Regions from separate parts of the Homo sapiens genome. Here region 1 is linked to region 2. Evidence: promoter capture Hi-C in 16 types of primary human blood cells and fetal thymus (Javierre and others, 2016). All regions are on one chromosome and are shown on one strand. The core of a region is centred on a gene start or on the middle of the fragment in contact, and the rest is flanking DNA. Distances in the headings are between cores, read along the strand shown. Region 1 has its middle 9.5 kb from the start of ACTRT3. Region 2 holds the start of GOLIM4 (golgi integral membrane protein 4).

Region 1 (3,346 bases), core at 42-2,541, 1.7 Mb after region 2:
TTTTTAAAATTATTTTTTGTTTGTTTAGTTTTCTGTAAAGTAAAATAGCAGTTAAAAGCTAAAATGCGTGTATTTACATTCTTAGGCCTGCTACTGACCTTCTTCAAGTGATTTTACCTCCCAACGTTTCAGTTTCTCCATTTGCAGAAGGGAGATAATGGTGGTTGCCTTATCTCACAAGGATGTCATGAAAATAAGTCAGATAAATTGCTTTGCCCTCCTTGGAGAGGGGCTCTAGAAAGTAAGCATTATTAGATATGATGATGAATACCCACAACTTCAAAGATATTTTTAAATTGCCCCCCCTCCGCCCCCAAGTCTTTGAACATGTTAAGCCTATGAATAGCACTGGGGTAGGTGTTTATATATTTCTGGCAAGCTTTCACCTCTTGTTAAAGCAGTAAATGGTCTTTGAACAAACGTATTTCTCATTCTTTGATAACTATGCTTCCTTGTTTGTACACTTGAAAGATGATTATAATCTGGCATATGAGGTCAAGTTGAACTCCTTGGTGCCATTACAGTTCAAATGTAGCTTTAATTGAGTTTTTCTTCCAAGGTTGAAAATAAGTCACCCAGTTCACTTTAGCAAACTACTCGCATTTTTTAAAAAGATTGTGGGGAATGTAACTGTTTTTGCAACTGATATGTATAATGTTTTTCATTTTAGTTATAATATCCTCATTGATCATACAAAAAAGTCAGTATTTGTATTTCTTCATTATTGCATTTTTCTGTTTTCCTTAAATTGTTTTTAATAACTATAATTATGCCTTTTAACACTTATATAGACAGCCATAGTACACACATAAATATCACCAAAGTGAAAACCTAGAGCCCCAAGACAAAAAAAAAAAAAAAAATGATAGTCAAACATCATCTAGAGAAAGATTCTAGCTGCAGGTGTGCATCAAGTTCATAATTGGTGTTATTTTAAAAATTCACAAACCATTAGCACTTCCACCCTTCTCCATATATCTCTTAACTATATACCCAAGTCAAAACCACTTCCTGCCAGAGTAACTACAACATACCCATCAGAGCGCTGTAAAATCATTACTTGCAAAGTAAAGAGTAAGACAGACTTCTCCTCTCATTAATAATACCAGTTGCTGTCATATATATTACTCATATATTCTCCCCACAACCACCCTTCAAGGGAAGTCTTAGTACATCCGGTTGACACATGTGGAATGTAAAGTTGGGTGACTTATGCTAGATTCCCTCAGCTAGGTTAGAACAGGGTAAAAGTACAGGACCACAATAATATCCTTATTTCAATGTCTTCCTGTTTCCTTTTTATATCAAGGAAGAAATGAGAATTTGAGGCAACACAAATGAAGACCATATATACTTTGATACCTACCTAGGAGGGGAGATACAAACCAGAGTAAAGGAAAAATATGGGAAAAGTTGCCTCATTTCCACCTAGTGATGGTGGAACCCTTGGAACCCTCTTCACATCCCATAACGACTGACAGAATGGACACTGAAAAACAGGCCCACCCCTCAGGCAGAACCACTGGAAGAAATACCCTAACCCCTATACGTGAAGGATTAGCACTACTATTTTCAGAATATTATTAAAATTTAATTTTGAAACTTCTCTTTAGTGATATTCCCAGAAACCTATAACAGATACCACCAGTGTAAACTCCTCTCAAATACATTTATTTTGGGTAGGCCTCAAACTGGTAGGATGGTCCAAACCCTCACCCTTCTAGAGAAAGCACTCAGGAATGCTTAAATTTGCCTAGGCCAAAGGTCGCAAATTAATAGCCTATAATAGACCAGATTTTATCTCAAAACGTTTTTTTATTGGTGCATTGCAATGACTTCAGCTATCAACAACCTAAGCTAGGAGGTCCCCAGGCCATCCTTACATCTGACAAGCTGCCTACAAATTTAGGGGTTCCCACTACCCCTTCAAGTTTCATAATTCAGTAGAATGACTTAGAGAACTCAGGAAAGTGTTATTTCGGTTTTATTACAGTTTTATCATAGCAAAAGGATGTTTATTATAGTTATTATTATGGTTTTATTATAGCAAAAGGATTCAAATCAAAACCAGCCAAAGGGAGAGACACATAGAGTGAGGTCTGGGAGGGTCCCAGAAAGAAGGTTCCATTGTCCCTCTCCTCATGTCCTCAGGGACACATTTTCCTCCTAGCACACTGAGTACTGCCAACCACGGACGTTCATCCAAGCTTCAGTGTGTCCAGAGTTTTTATTGGGGCTTCATTACAGGCATGATTGGATGAATCACTAGTCATAAGGCTCAGACATGTGGCTCCAAGTCTCTCAAGAGGTCGGGCTAGTATCATGGGGCCCAAAGCCCCAACACTCTAATCACATGGCTGACCAACCCCCAGTCATGAGTCATCTCGTTAGTGTAAACTATTGGGTCTAGTCCAAGAGGCCTACCAAGAAAAGACACTCCCACCATTCTTGGTGAATTCCAAGGGTTTAGAGGCTACTTCCCAGGGTTCAGGAACAAAAGCCATCCAAATTCTTTACCATGCACTTATATAATATTTAAATTTTATTTCAATTTAGCTACCAACATTCTATAATCAGTGGTGTTGACATAAAAATCTGAATTTTTGTCTTCTCTTGCAATACTGACAATTTTAGGCTCAATTTCTGTAAGATTGCTGCCTCCTTAAAAAGGGAAGCTCATTCTCCCTACCATCTCTATAGTCTCCATTTTCTTATTCCCAGTGTGATTCACTTCTTTGTTTCCTTTCTGTCCACTGCAGACATTTAAATTTGCATATCCTGGGCTAATTCTTGGGTATTTTCGCTGTTTTTACTTCCATCACATATTATTACCTTAAAAGAATGAACATGAAGGAATGACAGTTACCTTTTGTCACTTCATTCTCATCTTATTTAAAACCACTCCTCCCTTACACTTTGTATGACGGTGGGTGCATGTGTACACACGCTTGTGCCTGTGCCATCTATTTGTCTCTTAAGTCTCGAGCCAGGCTAACATGGAATTTTTGACTGCAGAACCAGGACAAGCTGAATTAAAACTCAATGTCATCCTCAGAGTCAAAACCCATAACCAACTCCAGACCTTACAAAGGAAGCCCCTCATTCTGAAGGACAAAAGAAAAAGCATGTTTCTCAGTATTTTTAAAGCTAATGCTTCCTTCATACGCATAAAATTCTCACATCCTTCATGTGAAATACAACCTAAGTAACAAAATAAAGAGAACAAGTATCGTCATTTGCAAACTTCATATACCCTTTCTCTCACTATACCCCTTTGAGAATCACTGGTTTAAATAATATAAAAGGCATGAAACAAGCCCTAAGTACCTCAGGAACCATGTGGACA
Region 2 (3,252 bases), core at 220-2,719:
AGGATGGTGAATGGTATGTAGTGTGGACTTTTCCCACACATCCAGCATCTCTAAAGACATCCTATTAAATTAAAAGAATAAGAAATAAGAAACTAGCAGGTCCAGATCTAGGTTCCTTCCATTCGACTGGGCCATGACTTTAATTAAGCTGCTGGGTCATGGCTTAATTTTCCCTTGAAAAACAGCACAGTTTGAGAAATCTCTGCCAAACTCTTCATTTTTTAAGCAACTGACAAAGTCAACAAGAAAGCAAATACCTAGAATCCACGGAACAATGCTCCTCAGAGCAGGGCTGGCAGAAGCGGCGGAGGGCTACCAGTTTCCCTGCCCCGATTGCAGCTGGGCCTTTGACAAGAGCTCGGGTAAAGGACTATCTGTGCACCCGCCCACCAAACGCCCAGCGGGACGATGGGCTGGTGCTACGAAGTTCTAAACCTAACCGCTGGGAGGAAGAAGCGGGAGGATGAGAATGTCATCTCCCCTGACACTCTGGTGCCGGCAGTCCTGAAACGCTCACCTCTGACGTCCCTGAAGGTCAGAGGTGGCAACCACAGTGCCAATAGCTCACCAAAGCCACTTTTCCTGCCCGGGTGGAGGCGCGGGGCAAAGTTGGCCACCGGCTGCGCGCGTCCCGTTAGCCGTACCTTGTAACTGGGCGGAGAGGGACTCCTGGTGCTGCTGGTACTTGAGCGCCACCGCCTCGGCTTTCCGCAGCTGCGTCTGCAGCTCGTAGTAGAGCATCGCGCCGTAGAGAAAGCCGAACACGACGGTCAGCAGCAGCAGCGTCTGGAAAATCCGCTTCTGCTTTCGGGAGCACATCCCGTTTCCCATAGTCCCGCCTGGACCCAAAGCCGCGGCCGCCCCCGCCGTCTCCTCCCCTTGGTCCGAGCGAGCGTCTCAGCAGCGGCCGCCGCAGTAGGTGGCCAGACGCAGCATGAGGAGGAGATGCCAGACACAAAAGCCGGCCCGGAGGGGAAGTGGCGCCCGCTCAGCCCCCGCGCGGCGCGGGGCGCGCAGCCATCGACGCCGCCCGGGCAGCTGCAGCCAAACTTCTGCGAGGCTCGTTCTCCGCGAATGCCCGGGGCCGGGAGGAGGCCCTCCGCATACTTCAGAGCCGGCTGCCCTCGCGCCTGTCCCCAGATGCCTCCTGCCTTTTTTCCTTCTTCCCACTTTTTGGCCCCGCTGCCCCCGGGCAGTTCTTGGAGTCCCGCCCTGGCCACTCCCCGCCCTATCGCGGCGGCTCCCACTGCACGACTTTGTTGCCACCTAAGGGAGGGGGTGCGCGCCCAACAAAGGGACCAGGACTCCGGGCCGCGCCCCCGTGCGGCCTGCCCAATGGGTGGAAGGGTGGGGGCCAGCTGTCTCGGCTGGTTTTGGGGACGGCACAGCGGTGTCACTGACGGGTCGGCTGGTGCCTCTGCCGCCCCGCCACCTCCTGCCCAACTTACGTGTCACCCACGGCCCGGCTATTCTGGCCAACGGGATTCCGGGAGGAAGTCCCACTCGGCCTCCTTGCTCATTGGGCCCGTCCGAGCAGACGCTCCCTCCCTTCGGGGAGGCAGTGCCGGGCTCGATTGGATGCCGGCTTTGTCCGTCCGACCCCAGGGCCGCACCTTCCCTCCCAGTGCCGGGGCCGGCTAGGGGCTCTGTGGGCAGCGCGGCCGCCTGGCGCCGGGGTGCGCCCACGTGGAGTCGGAGAGGGTGGGAAGAGGCAGGCGGAAGGGCGAAGGGCGGGGAGCTTTGGGTGGGCGGGGGACTTGTCCGGGCCTGAGTCTGGGTGAGGTTCGGTGAACACGTGTGTGTGTGTGTGTGTGTGTGTGTGTGTGTTCCAGTTCTCGTTCGGAACGCACGTGGAGAGCGGAGTAAAATGTGTGTATGAACGAAAGAATGGATGGCAGTAACTGTGTGCACTCTGCTGAGTACACTTTCTTTCCCTGTCCAATAAACTGATGCGGCAGACACATGGGATAGCTACATAGCACAATCCCGGTAGTCAAACCAGAGATGCCATGTCGACTGCCTTACCCCATCCAGTGTACTAGCCTAGATGTGTGTGTGCCCACAGATGGCCCGGCAGGAGTCGGGAGACTGGAAGCACGCTAGACTTAATGTTCAATTGTCCACGTGGGCTGGGGAAATCGGCTTGCCATTGGCAGAGAGGAAAGAAATGGTCTCACATTTCTCCTCTAGCTGCAAATAGAATAATTTAAAAACAAATCGTACAGACTGAAATGAGTATCCATTCATTTTGTCATATGTATTTGTTTTATTGGTGGCAAAACACATCAGTTACATTTCTAAATTACATTTTAAAGGGCAACAAAGGTTCCCTATGTAAAAACTAGTACAGCACAGGAAAGGTAGTAACCACAAACCTCTTCGAAGAAATGTATACTGCATTTATTTTTTCTGTGTACTTGAGGGGAATAATTAAGGTTATGCACAAATGATAATTTTTGTTTCTGCTGTTGACCTGAATTCTAAGAAAAGTAAATTTTATCTGTCTGTATAGTGTGGTGTAATTTATGATACACTGCATAATTTTTATATTCTAACTGGACTTTAGTCGTTACCATTGCTAATGGGCCTGAGTGCTCAAAATGGGGGTAAATCTCTTTAGCTAAATGCAACAGAAAGACAGTTCCTGGTGCAAAAGTTTTTTTAGGTGGACTCTGAAATTATAGGTTGCTAAAGCCCTAAAATAAACTGAATTTATAACGATGCTACCCTGTGGCATTTATACCACTGTAAAAATAAAGTGTGTCTTGCATGTGCTTTTCCTTAATAAATAATAACTTGCGTTAAATTATTCAAAATGCTTTCGTGTGCAGATACACTGTCTCACTGATCACAGCCAGGGTGTTAGACTTTCATGTTGGTAAAGAAGCCAAAGTTTATCAAAGTGACTATGACAGCTCTAGGACCTTTTAGGTCTTGCATAAAGTTAGTTACTCAGCAAGATTAGAATCCAGATCCAAACCCTGCTCTATGTCTTTTTCTTCAATAGAAACAATGTTCTCATTCTATTAAACAAGTTACAGTAAGAAATTATATCTCCATTAACATGAGAATCTGATTGTAAAAGAAAACAGTCTAAAGGAGTTTGGGAGTTTTGTTGTGTAAATACTACATAATCTTCCTTATTATTAAATCTACCACTTTAAATTCCTCTTTTTTAGTTTGACTCTCAGAAATTAACATTGGATAATTACTGGAATCTCTTTAAAATTCCTCATAACTAAACATTCCTTA

What was found. Contacts are between HindIII fragments. The CHiCAGO score rates a contact against its expected background, and 5 or more counts as called.
Region 1: a fragment that was not itself captured here is called in contact with the fragment with the promoter of GOLIM4 in region 2 in 1 of 17 cell types (erythroblasts); the score reaches 5.1 in erythroblasts.

The regions. Positions count from the first base shown.
Region 1 is chr3:169,758,358-169,761,703 of GRCh38, forward strand. No RefSeq gene overlaps it. Among named protein-coding and RNA genes, the nearest start is that of ACTRT3, 9.5 kb to the right of the region's middle. The HindIII fragment of the contact is 1,828 bases long and covers 378-2,205 here.
Region 2 is chr3:168,094,455-168,097,706 of GRCh38, forward strand. It overlaps GOLIM4 (golgi integral membrane protein 4), which reads right to left and starts at 1,470. Exons shown (of 16, transcript NM_014498.5): 1 at 645-1,470. The coding sequence starts at 831. RefSeq lists silencers at 1,246-1,295, 1,586-1,825 and enhancers at 1,497-1,998, 2,196-2,245. The HindIII fragment of the contact is 7,495 bases long and covers 1-3,252 here.